2 separate regions of the Homo sapiens genome follow, and region 2 is linked to region 1. The links are contacts of gene promoters, found by promoter capture Hi-C in human tissues and cell types (Jung and others, 2019). All regions are on one chromosome and are shown on one strand. The core of a region is centred on a gene start or on the middle of the fragment in contact, and the rest is flanking DNA. Distances in the headings are between cores, read along the strand shown.

Evidence for each region. The method cuts DNA at HindIII sites, captures the fragments that hold promoters and counts their contacts. A contact is called where the count stands out against the background at its distance.
Region 2: a fragment that was not itself captured here is called in contact with the fragment with the promoter of ZBTB17 in region 1 in 1 of the 25 tissues and cell types used here (adrenal gland).

The regions. Positions count from the first base shown.
Region 1 is chr1:15,971,129-15,977,818 of GRCh38, reverse strand. ZBTB17 (zinc finger and BTB domain containing 17) reads left to right here and starts at 1,718. Exons shown (of 16, transcript NM_003443.3): 1 at 1,718-1,836; 2 at 4,694-4,780. RefSeq lists enhancers at 1,354-1,853, 2,745-2,854 and silencers at 1,855-1,954, 1,995-2,324. The HindIII fragment of the contact is 12,952 bases long and covers 1-6,690 here.
Region 2 is chr1:15,609,734-15,615,617 of GRCh38, reverse strand. It overlaps the pseudogene CD24P1. Among named protein-coding and RNA genes, the nearest start is that of DDI2, 4.8 kb to the left of the region's middle. The HindIII fragment of the contact is 5,795 bases long and covers 1,484-5,884 here.

The DNA of each region.
Region 1 (6,690 bases), core at 469-2,968:
TCTCTACTAAAAATACAAAAAATTAGCCGGGCATGGTGGCGGGCGCCTGTAGTCCCAGCTACTCGGGAGGCTGAGTCAGGAGAATGGCGTGAACCTGGGAGGCGGAACTTGCAGTGAGCCCAGATGGCGCCACTGCACTCCAGCCTGGGCAACAGAGCAAGACTCCATCTCAAAAAAAAAAAAAAAAAAAAAAAAAGACTACACCTTGGGTAGAATGTACACTGTTCAGGTCATGGGTCCCCCAAAATCACAGAAATCATCACTAAAGAACTTATCCATGTAACCAAACACCATGTGTTCCCCAAAAACTACTGAAATAAAAATTAAAAATATAGTTAAAAAGAACGGGTGAAGTTAGCCAGTTGTGGGTGCACATGCCTGTAGTCTCAGCTACTGGGGAGGTTGAAATGGGATGCTTAAGCCTAGGGGTTTCAGTCCAGCCGGGCAACATAGCGAGACCCCATCTAAAAAAAAAAAAAAGAAAGAAAAGAAAGACGGCCGGGCACGGCGGCTCACGCCTGTAATCCCAGCACTTTGGGAGGCTGAGGCAGGTGGATCACGAGGTCAGAAGATCGAGACCATCCTGGCTAACATGGTGAAACCCCGTCTCTACTAAAAATACAAAAAATTAGCCAGGTGTTGTGGCGGGCGCCTGTAGTCCCAGCTACTCTGGAGGCTGAGACAGGAGAATGGCGTGAACCCGGGAGGCGGAGCTTGCAGTGAACCGAGACAGCGCCACTGCACTCCAGCCTGGAAGACAGAGTGAGACTCTGTCTCCAAAAAAAAAAAAAAAACCTAAAGACAAGAAGGGGTGAAGTCAACTGCTGGGCTTTTTTGTTTCTCTAGCCATTGTGAAGACAGGAGTGAGTTGCCAGATTGGCATATGTTGCATCCCACTGAAGGCTAGTGGACATGAATCTCTAGGGAACAGTCTCCCCACTGCATACTTTCTTCAGCTGTGCTTGGCTGTTTGGGAGCTAACAAAGAGAAAAGGTGCATTTGGATTCACACAGCGTTGGTATTCTTACCAAATCCATGTGACAAAAAGGCAAGGGGGCAAAAGAGCTTACAGTAGTGGCAAGAGTGTTGTTAAAATTATAGATTATGGAAAATATGCAGGCCTAGAAGTAAACAAAGGAGAAAGCCCTCAGACTGTGAGAAAGTGGAGAAGTCAGTGGCCTAGAGCTACCAAAAAGGTAGAAGAGGGGCCACGGAGGGGCCATGCAAGTCTGCAGACACTTTTGTTTTCAGACACCTTTATTCACGTCCAAGACAATCAGGGAAGGGGATAATGTTCGGTTTAGAAGGTAGAAAAACACAACTGGGATCTGCAGCTTTGAAGCCACAAGTAGATTCATATCTCCGGTCCACCACTTACAAGATATGTGACCATGGACATTGATTTACACTTTTTGAGTCTGTTTTCCCTTTTTTAAAATTAGGAGAATAATACTATCTTATAATTGGTGTGAGGATTTAAAGAGATAATGCATGTAAAGCGCTTAACACAGTGCCTGGCACACAGTAAGAGCTGAACACATGATGTTACTGTTATATTTGGAAGAGAAACCAAGGCAGGGGTACAATGAGGACAACTCTGAGCGCCGAAGTACTGTAAGGTGGAACTTTTGGATAGCTAGGCGCATGCGTCTGTCTATGGGCGCTCTCCTAGCGAGGACGCTGCGCATGCGCCGGAAGTTGCAGCCGGGAAGCCTGCGAGGTCGGTTCCGCCCGACTCTAACATGGCGGCGCCCTTTGTCTGCTCTGGAGTGCCGTCCCCGGCCTTCTCGCGGCCGTGATGCACCTCCCTCTGCGGTGGGGTCCGGGACATGGCAGGTGAGTGTCAACAATCGCCCGGGGCCGGGGAAGTCCCGGGAGCCGGGGCGGAGGCGGCGGAGGATGGGGCGCGGTGGGACGCCGGTGACGGTTGTGTGGGGGAGGGGAGGGAAGTGGAATGGGACGCCAACCGGGGCTGAGGGGACACCGCTGGGCGGGAGATTGTGGGGTGGCGGGGCGGGGGGCGTCGCCGGGCGTGCTGGCGGGGAGTGGGCGGCCAGGCGACCGCCCGGGCGAGGGGGCGCGTGTCACCTCCCGGGCTGGATGACACCCCAGCTGGTAGCATCTCCGCCCCCGCCGCACGGCTGTCACCGCCCCTTGACCCCGCGCGCTGTCGAGGGTGGGCGTTCTGCGGCCGCGAGGGAGCGCAGTGCCGGGGCAGCTCCTGTCGGCCGGCCGGGGCGGGAGGGAGCGGGGCTGCCCGGGCCTAGGAGGAGCTGACAGAGGAGGCCGACGCTGTCCCTGTATAAAAGCATTTCATTCATTCATTCGTACTGCGGACGGTGGTTCAGCACCTGATAGATGGTGAAGCTAGAGCGAGTGATGCGGGCGGACTCGATCCTCCAGGATCCTCGATCCTGGAGTTAGGAGTGTGAACCGTGGAGCCCAGCAGCGGGGTTTGAATCCCCATTCCCTGCTGTGACCTTAGGCACTTTTGGCTTTTTCTCTCTGCCTGGGTTTATTCATCCTTTAAGCAGAGATGATAATAAAATCAGCCTCCTAAGATTGTAATAAAGGGGAAATGAGGCTCCTAGAACACTTATGGGTACAAAGTAAATGCTGTGTGTTTGTTGCTGTTATTAATTGTATCACCATTGTCACCCAGAGCTCAGAGACCCATGTGGGAGACATACAGGTAAATCAGCAATTCTGATACTGCTGCGAGGGCAGAAAGCCCTCCTTCCTCTGAAGCACGGAGTAGAGACACATCACTCAGCCTAGGGGGAATCCCGGGAGGCTTCTGTCCCCCAGAAAGCTAAGATCTAAGGGAAGCTCAGCGGAGTGAGGCAGGAAAACGGGTATTCCCAGTTAAGGGTGTAGTTTGTGAGAAAACTCATCTTCGTAGAGAGAGGAGAGAGAGATCAGGCTAAATAAAGAAGCAGACTGGGCCGGGCTCGTTGTCTCACGCTTGTAATCTCAGCACTTTGGGAGGCCCAGGCGGGCAGATCACTTGAGGTCAGGAGTTCGAGACCAGCCTGGCCAATATGGTGAAACCCCCGTCTCTACTAAAAATACAAAAATTAGCCGGTCGTGCTTGCGCGCGCCTGTAGTCCCAGCTGCTCAGGAGGCTGAGGTATGAGAATCGCTCGAACGCAGGAGGCGGAGGTTGCAGTGAGCCGAAACGGCGCCACTGCACTCCAGCCTGGGCGACAGAGCGAGATTCCGTCTCAAAAAAGAAAAAAAAAAAAAGCAGCAGCAAGCTGTGGTCTGGTCTTAGGGGACGTTGTAAACCTAGTTAAGGACTTTAAACTTTAGGTTAATGGGAAGCCATTTAAGAATCAGATCTGTGGCCAGGTGCGGTGGCTTACTCTGTAATTCTAGCACTTTGGGAGGCCAACGTGGGATGATCATTTGAGCCCAGGAGTTTGAGACAAGCCTGGGCAACATGGCAAGACCCCATCTTTATTAAAAGAAAAAAAAAAAAAAAGGAAAAAAAAAATAGCCGGGCATGGTGGAGTACACCTCTGGTGGTCCCAGCTTCTTGGAAGGCTGAGGTGGGAGGATTCTTTTATTTCCAGCCTGAAATAAAAGAATCAGGTTTTTTTTGTTTTTGTTTTTGTTTTTTTTTTTTGAGACTACGTCTTGCTCTGTCACCCAGGCTGGAGTGCAGTGGCAGCATAATCATAGTTCACTGCAGCCTTGATCTGAACTCAAGTGATCCTTCTGCCTCAGCCTCCCAACTAGCTGGGACTACAGGCGTGCACCATAACACCTGGCTAATTTTTTAAATTTTTAGTAGAGATGGGGTCTCACTATGTTGCCCAGACTGGTCTCGAACTCTTGGCCTCAAATGATCCTCCCGCCTCAGCCTCCCAAAGTACTGGGATTATAGGCATGTGCAACCATGCCTGGCCACGAATCAGATTTGTGGATTAGGAAGATCACTCTGGCTAAGTGAAGAATGTATCAAAGGGAGTGGGCCTGTAGGCCAATTAAGAGCCTGCTAGAATAATCCAAGTGAGAAATAAAGGTGTGAGTTAAAGGCAGAGAGTGAGGAGAGATGGTTTTAGCGATAGAATTGACACAATTTGGTGATTAGTTTGATGAGAGTTAGGGGCAGGGAGGAGTCAGGATCACCCCAGTTTTTGACTGATGGGTGTTGGATGCTGCTCCATGTGATAGGGAGCAGTACGGGGAGCAGATCTGGGGGAGGGCAGATATGTTTAGTTTTGAACATGTTGGAGTTGGATGCCTGTAAAACATTCAAGTGCACCTGTTCAGCTAGTAGTTATCACCATCAAAGGTCACTGAAGTCATGGGAGGGGATGAGCTCACCTAGGGTAGGGTATGCAATGAGAAACAAAGTGTCCAGGATATCCCAGAGCAGTGCCAATGCTGCAGTAATGCTTGGATACAAACCTTGTCGTTTTTCCTTCTTAACATTGTGTCCTGTCTCTTATTGAGCTGGAGTTCTTGAGAGCAGGGCCTGAGGCTGAGTCTGTGCATCTTTGTGTCCCAGTGTCAGCATGCTATCTGGCACAGAGCAGGCCATTTATTCAGCACTTCCTTGGGCCAGGCTCTGTGCTAAGCACTCTGTATTTGTCTATGTTTGATGGATGCATGAAAAGGCAGCTCTGAGGGAGCAGGTACCCTTTAGGTTCTCATCAGATTTTCCACTTGTGTGTCATTGATTCAGGTAATGAGCCGGACGAGGGGAGCCAAGCTGGAGTTTACACAGGCAAACTGTCAGAAAAGAGTAGCCTGGGCTGTCTGGAAATCTGAGGTATGTCTGTAATACTCAAGGATGAAACAAATCAGATCAGTTTGTCCTTTTTCTCTAGGTTCAACATGATTCAAATGATTCTTTCCTGATAGCCTTTTCTTCAAAATTATATAGTAATGACAAAATCCCAGTTACAGTTTGGTTGGGAAATTGTTGATCTTACTATTATTGTTTTACCTGCAGAGAGAGGCCAGAGTGGATGATCACTGGGCAATGCTCACGCCTTTAGTTAGGTGAAATCTACAGTGGTGGAAACAGAAGTTTATTCCTTGCTCCTTAACATTCTGGAAGTACACAGTCCAGAGCTGGTAGCACAGCTTGCTGTGTTCTGTGAGATCATCTGGGAGCAGGATTCCTTTGATAATGTGGCTTTTCTTGCTCAAACTTAGGCTTCCATCTCATGGTCCAAGCTGGCTGCTGTAGCTCCTGCCATCATGTATGATCTCCCTAGGGCAAAAAGGGACACAGAGCAGCGAGCACACACTCATTCCTTTTAAAGTTCTAATGTTTAAGGTGGGATTTTTGTGCAACATGGTTCCCAAACATAAGCCAGTTCCTGCATCTGGTGCACAGCTAAAGAACAGATTGTGACTGTTTCAGTGCTGGAGAAAAAGCTGGCTGAGAGAACCTGCTCTGTCCTCAGTCTGTCTGGATTACTCTCTTGGGGGTGTGATCCCAGCCTGAGGGGAGGTCCACTGAGTCCCCAAGGCAGGCTGCTCTGGCTTTGGGTAGGTTTACAGGGCTTGGGCCCAGGGAGGCCAGGCTTGTTTATCCATTCATTGTTTCTGTGCCCAACATGTGTCAGGCATTGTGCTGGGTGCTAGGGATGCTGGCACAAGTAAGACTGAATCCCGGGAGCAGGTGCTCCCAGCCATGTGTATCCTCACAATGCAATGCAGGAAATACCTTGGAGGGCTGGTGGAGGGTGTGCGCACACAGGGAGGATGCACTGGCGCTGGAAGGCTTTCCTGAGGGGGTGAAGATGTTGCAAACCGCGCATTTTGGACTGATCACTGTAAAATTCCCCTTGGACAGGTAGAGGCAGCTAGGACTCTGGGGTCAGGTGTGAATCTGCCCTCCCGTTGAGTGGCTCTGTGTCCTGACAGTCAGTTCCTTCTGAAACTGTGTCCCAAAGAGTTAAAAAAAAAAAAAGTAATGACTATTAATTTTCCTAATCACAAGATTGTCTTCTGACACATCAGACAGCAAGCCTTTTACTCAGTTTCATTGCTGAGCCTCAGTTTCCTCATCTGTAAAATAGGGATGACAGAATTGTTTGGAGAATTACATGAGGACAGGCAGGTAATTCACAGAATTGTCTGGAGAATTACATGAGGTCAGGCAGGTAATTCACAGGGTTTGCTGCATAGTGCAGCACTCCCCAACCTTTTCGTTTTTTTTTTTCTGTCAGCAAAATATATATTTTATATATATAGTGTATATATATAGTGTGTGTGTATATATATATAGTGTGTGTGTATATATATAGTGTGTGTGTATATATATAGTGTGTGTGTATATATATAGTGTGTGTGTATATATATATAGTGTGTGTATATATATAGTGTGTGTGTATATATAGTGTGTGTGTATATATATAGTGTGTGTGTATATATATATAGTGTGTGTGTATATATATAGTGTGTATATATATATAGTGTGTGTATATATATATATTGTGTGTGTATGTACATATATATATATACATACACACATACAGAGAGAGAGAGAGATTTCCCCCACCCACCCACCTACCTACCCAAAACATGTGTCTTAGTGTTTGATTTTTTTTTTTCATACACACAGAATAGGGAATTTCAGAATTTTTACATACATTTTAGCAAACAAGTTTTGATCTATTGGCTTCTTGGTGCAGTAATGGTGCCAAAGGCTCATACTATTACAAGGAA
Region 2 (5,884 bases), core at 3,132-5,631, 360 kb after region 1:
GTTCTAGGATTGCCCAGTGGTGGTATCAAGGAATCAGTTGAGGCTTGAATCATTGATTAATTGTTATATTTGGTCTAGTGGTGCTCAGGTTCCCAGGTCTGGCAGATTTTGTTCTCCAAAGATGACCATGACAGTGCCTCCCATCGTCTATGCTCTTCCTACAACATGATTGGATAACCCTCCCATTAAGAAGTGGGGTGAATGTCCCTCCCTTTGAATCATGGCTCGGCAGACTAACTCTGGCATAAGTGACATTATGTGATTTCCTTTTTTTTTTTTTTTTTTATCAAGACAGGGTCTGGCTCTGTCACCCAGGCTGGAGTGCAGTGGCACGATCATGGCTCACTGCAGCCTCAACCTCCAGGGCTCAAGTGATCCCTCCAGCTCAACCTCCCCAGCAGCTGGAACTACAGGTGTGCACCACCACACGCAGCTAATTTCTTTTTAGTAGAGATGAGATCTTGCTATGTTGCCCAGGCTTGATTTCCTTTTTATTATGATTTTACATTATTTTTAGTTAAAAAAAATAGGGATGAGTCCTTGCTATGTTGACCAGGCTAATCTCCAAATCCTGGCCTCAAGTGATCCTCCCACCTTGGCCTCACGAAGTACTGGGATTACAGATGTGAGCCATCGCACCCAGCCACTTTGTGTGATTTTTAAGGCTAGGTCTCGCCTGTGTCCACCTGGAGCCAGCAGTTCTCACCCAGCATCCAGCAATATATGCCAGACACCAATGGAGGGGACAAAGCAATGGTGGACAGGCTCAGGCTGGGGCTGCTGCTTCTGGCACTGCTCCTACTTATGCAGATTTATTCAAATCAAACTATTGTAACGTTTTCAAGTAACTCCTCCCAGGGTACCTTGTCTGCCCCAAACCCAGCTAATGCCACCACCAAGGCAGTTGGCTGTGCCCTGCAGTCAACTGCCAGTCTCCTCATGGTCTTGCTTTCTCTTCTATATTTCTACTGTTAAGAAACATCTATACTTCCGTGTCTTCTAAACCCATTCCAAATGGCATCTAGGAGTCCAATGTGGCAAGAAAAAAAGCGGGTCTTCATCAAATCTATTAATTTCACACCTTCTTTTACTGATACAGAAAAGGTTGAGAACCTGGCCAGGTGTGGTGGCTCATGCCTGTAATCCCAACACATTGAGAGGTCGAGGCAGGTGGATCACCTGAGGTCAGGAGTTTGAGACCAGCCTGGCCAACATGGTGAAACCCCGTCTCTACTAAAAGTACAGAAAAATTACCCAGATATGGTGGTGGATGCCTGTAATCCCAGCTACTTGGGAGGCTGAGGCAGGAGAATTGGTTGAACCTGGGAGGCAGAGGTTGCAGTGAGCCGAGATTGCGCCATTGCACTCCAGCCTGGGCAACAAGAGCAAAACTCTGTCTCAAAAAAAAAAAAAAAAAAAAAAAAGGCCAGGCGCGGTAGCTCACATCTGTAATCCCAGCACTTTGGGAGGCCGAGGCAGGTGGCAGGTGGATCACAAGGTCAGGAGTTCAAGACCAGCCTGACCAACATGGTGAAACCCCGTCTCTACTAAAAATATAAAAATTAGCCAGACGTGGTGGTGTGTGCCTGTAATCCCAGCTACTCAGGAGGCTGAGGCAGGAGAATGGCTTGAACATGGGAGGCAGAGGGTGCAGTGAGCCGAGATCGCGCCATTGCACTCCAGCCTGGGCGACAGAGTGAGACTCCATCTCAAAAAAAAAAAAAAAGGAAAGAAAGAAAGAAAAGGTTGAGAACCCCAAATTTAATTGCTTTGAAGAACACGTGAAGGGTTTGACTAGATGATGGATGCCAATATTAAATCTGCTTAAATGTCATGTACAAGATGAAGAGAGGCAACATCCAAAATTGAAGACATTATTTCTTGAATGTGGCTTAAGAAATGTGGACAGTTAAAACTACCTTGAAAATAAGAATAGTAGATCCTGAGACAAAACTTGGGTAATAAAAAAAAAATAATAATAAATAATAGATTTTATCTTGTTTAGAAATAAAGATGTAATATGGAGTGGAGATTCAGTTTTCATTTGGTTCATTAAGTCTATACGGCAGTAAAACCAGTAAAATAAAAGATTTCCATTGGCAGGGGTGGGGGTGGCTCATACCTGTAATCCTAGCACTTTGGGAGGCCACAGCAGGAGGATCGATTGAGCCCAGGAGTTTGAAATCACCCTGGGCAACAGGGTGAGACCCCATCTCTACAAAAAAAAATTTATTTTAATTTAATTAATTTATTTATTTATTGAGATGGAGTCTTGTTCTGTTGCCCAGGCTGGAGTGCAGTGGTGCGAGCTCAGCTCACTGCAACCTCCACTTCCCTGGCTCGTGATTCTCCTGCCTGAGCCTCCCAAGTTGCTGGGATTACAGGCCTGCACCACCATGCCCCGCTAATTTTTATTTTTTGTTTTTCCTTTCTGAGACACAGTCTCGCTCTGCCATCCAGGCTGGAGTGCAGTGGTGCGATCTCAGCTCACTGCAACCTCTGCCTCGCAGGTTCAAGTGATTCTTGTGCCTCAGCCTCCTGAGTAGCTGGGATTACAGGCACCCACCACCATACCTGGCTAATTTTTGTATTTTTAGTGGAGACAGGGTTTCACCATGTAGGCCAGGCGGGTCGCAAACTCCTGACCTCAGGTGATCTACCCACTGGGCCCCCCAAAGTGCTGGGATTACGGGCATGAGCCACTGCACCTGGCCATAATCTCCTTTTTTTTTTTTGAGGCAGCGTTTCACTCTTGTCCCCCAGGCTGGAGTGCCATGGCACGATCCCAGCTCACTGCAATCTCCACCTCCCGGGTTCAAGCCATTCTCCTTCTTTAGCCTCCTGAGTAGCTGGGACTACAGGAGCATGCCACCATGCCCAGCTAATATTTGTATTTTTAGTAGAGATGGGGTTTCACCATGTTGGCCAGGCTGGTCTCAAACTCCTGACCTCAGGCGATCCAGCTCTCTCGTCCTCCCAAAGTGCTGGGATTACAGGTGTGAGCCACCGTGTCTGGCCCACAAATTTAAAAAAAGAGGTGGGCATGGTGTCACACACTTGTGGTCACAGCTACCCAAGAGACTGAGGTAGGATGATCACTTCAGCCCTGGAGGTCAAGGCTGCAGTAAGCCATTATCATGGCACTCCAGCCTGGGTGACAGAGCAAGATCCTGTCTTAAAGTTTAAAAAAGCTTCCATCGGCTGGGTGCAGTGGCTCACACCTGTAATCCCAGCACTTTGGGAGACCAAGGCGGGTGGATCACAAGGTCAGGAGTTCAAGACCAGCCTGGCCAAGATGGTGAAACCCCATCTCTACTAAAAATACAAAAAATTAGCTGGGCACGGTGGCAAGTGTCTGTAATTACAGCTACTCGGGAGGCTGAGGCAGGAGAATCGTGTGAACTCGGAGGGTGGAGGCTGCAGTGAGCTGAGACCGCACCACTGCACTCCAGCCTGGAAGACAGAGTGAGACTCCGTCTCAAAAAAAAAAAAAAAAGCTTCCATCATTCTATAAATCCTCAATGTATTATTTCAGCAGTACTAATTTAATGCCAATATATTAAGTTTTACATTGTTAGGCTATCACTGTTCTTTTGGTAACTGAATTCTTTTTCCTCTGAGGATTTGGATTTGACATTGCATTTGACCTTTTATTTAGTAATTGACATGTGCCAGGGCAATGATAGACTGCAATCTACCCCCAAGTCCAAGCATCATCAATAACTCTTGTTTATCCTTAGAGAGTCAAATGGTAGGCATTTCATTTCACCTATTTTCGTTCAACAAGGACACCAGATTCATTAAGGGGCTGGGTGCGGTGGCTCACCCCTGTAATCCCAGCACTTTGGGAGGCTGAGGCAGGTGGATCACTTGAGGTCAGGAGTTCGAGACCAGCCTGACCAACAAGATTAAACCCTGTCTCTACTAAAAATACAAAAATTAGCTGGGCATGGTGGTGTGCCTGTAATCCCAGCTACTCAGAGGCTGAGATAGGAGAATTGCTTGAACCTTAGAGCCAGAGGTTGCAGTGAGCCAAGATCATGCTACTGCTGTCCAGCCTGGGAGACACAGTGAGACTCCATCTCAAAAAACAAAAAAAGATCTGTTTTGAAGGTAAAATTATAAACCTTGAAATTAAAAGGGCAAAAATGTAAAGGAGCCAAAAACTGTATATCAAGTATTTGGAAAGTAAAGACTGAAAGTTAACTTGCATTAAAGTCACAAAAACTTTTATACTCTTTTCTTTTTCTTTCTTTCTTTTTTTTTTTTTTGAGATGGAGTTTCACTCTTGTTGCCCAGGCTGGAGTGCAATGGCATGATCTTGGCTCACCGCAACCTCCGCCTCCCAGGTTCAAGCGATTCTCCTGCCTCAGCCTCCTGAGTAGCTGGGATTACAGGCACGCACCACCACGCTCGGCTAATTTTGTATTTTTAGTAGAGATGGAGTTTCTCCATGTTGGTCAGGCTGGTCTTAAACTCCTGACCTCAGGTGATCTGCCCGCCTCAGCCTCCCAAAGTGCTGGGATTACAGGCCTGAGCCACCGTGCCCAGGCTATACTCTTTTTCTGTAAATGCTTTTTGCAAACAACAACTATGGATCAGAATAGCTGCATTTAAAACACATTTTGGGGCTTTTTTTTTTTTGAGACAGAGTCTTACTCTGTCGCCCAGGCTGGAGTGCAATGGAGCGATCTTGGCTCACTGCAACCTCCGCCTCCCAGGTTCAAGTGATTCTCCTGCCTCAGCCTCCCGAGTAGCTAGGATTACAGGTGCACAACACCACACCTCGCTAATTTTTGTATTTTTTGTAGAGACGGCATTTCACCATGTTGGCCAGGATGGTCTTGAACTCCTGACCTCGTGATCTGCCCACCTCAGCCTCCCAAAGTGCTGGGATTACAGGCGTGAGCCACCGCACCCAGCTGGGGCCTTTTTTTTTAAGAGACATGGTCTCACCCTGTTACCCAGGCTAGAGTTCACTGCGGCCTCAACCTCGTGGACTAAAGCAATCCTCCTGCCTCAGCCTCCCAAGTAGCTAGCACTACATGCGTGTGCCACCATTCCCAGCGAATTTTTATCTTTTTGTAGAAATAGGAGTCTTTCTATGTTCCCAAGCTGTTCTTGAACTCCTAGGCTCAAGCAATCCTCTTACCTCATCTCCTAACGTGCTGGGATTACAGACATGAGCCATCATGCCCTGTTTGAAACACATTTTGTTATGTCAATATTTTTAGATAGTTAGAACCTGGTCCTAAACCGCAAAGTAAGCTTGATTCTGTAATAAAAATGTTTACAACTGTCTTGACACACAGAAACCTTTTTAAAAATAGACACTCCCTGAAGTCCTTTGTTCACAAGGTCACACACTGATGCTTATGTGTTCCAGCATCTAATATGGCCACAGTAGTCTTTTTTTTTCCATCTTTAGAAACCTACACGGGAACAGCAGATGGAACAGATCTGAACCCACTCCACTGTGTGTGTGAATGAACACTCCCTTTTGCTCCATGCCGAAATGCTGTACATCTATTTTGGATTGTATATTTGTGTGTGTATGCTTTGATTCATAGTAACTTGTTATGAAATTGATTTGTATTGAATACAAACTGCAAATAAAAATAAATCAATGGCTGAAAAAAAGTCAGTACAGCTTCTCCGTGATTCTCTTGGAACGCTTGCTCTTGGAACCCAGCAGCCATGCTGTGAGGAAGCCCAAACTACACCACACGGTGAGACCGCATGGAGAAAATACGTGTGGTTGTTCCAGAAAGCTGCTCAGCTGAGGGGAAAGCTGATTAGCGGGAAAACTCACCAAGCACAGAAGTGAAGACACTTTCAGATGACTTCAACCCCCAGATGTTGAATCATCTCCAACTTATGAGTC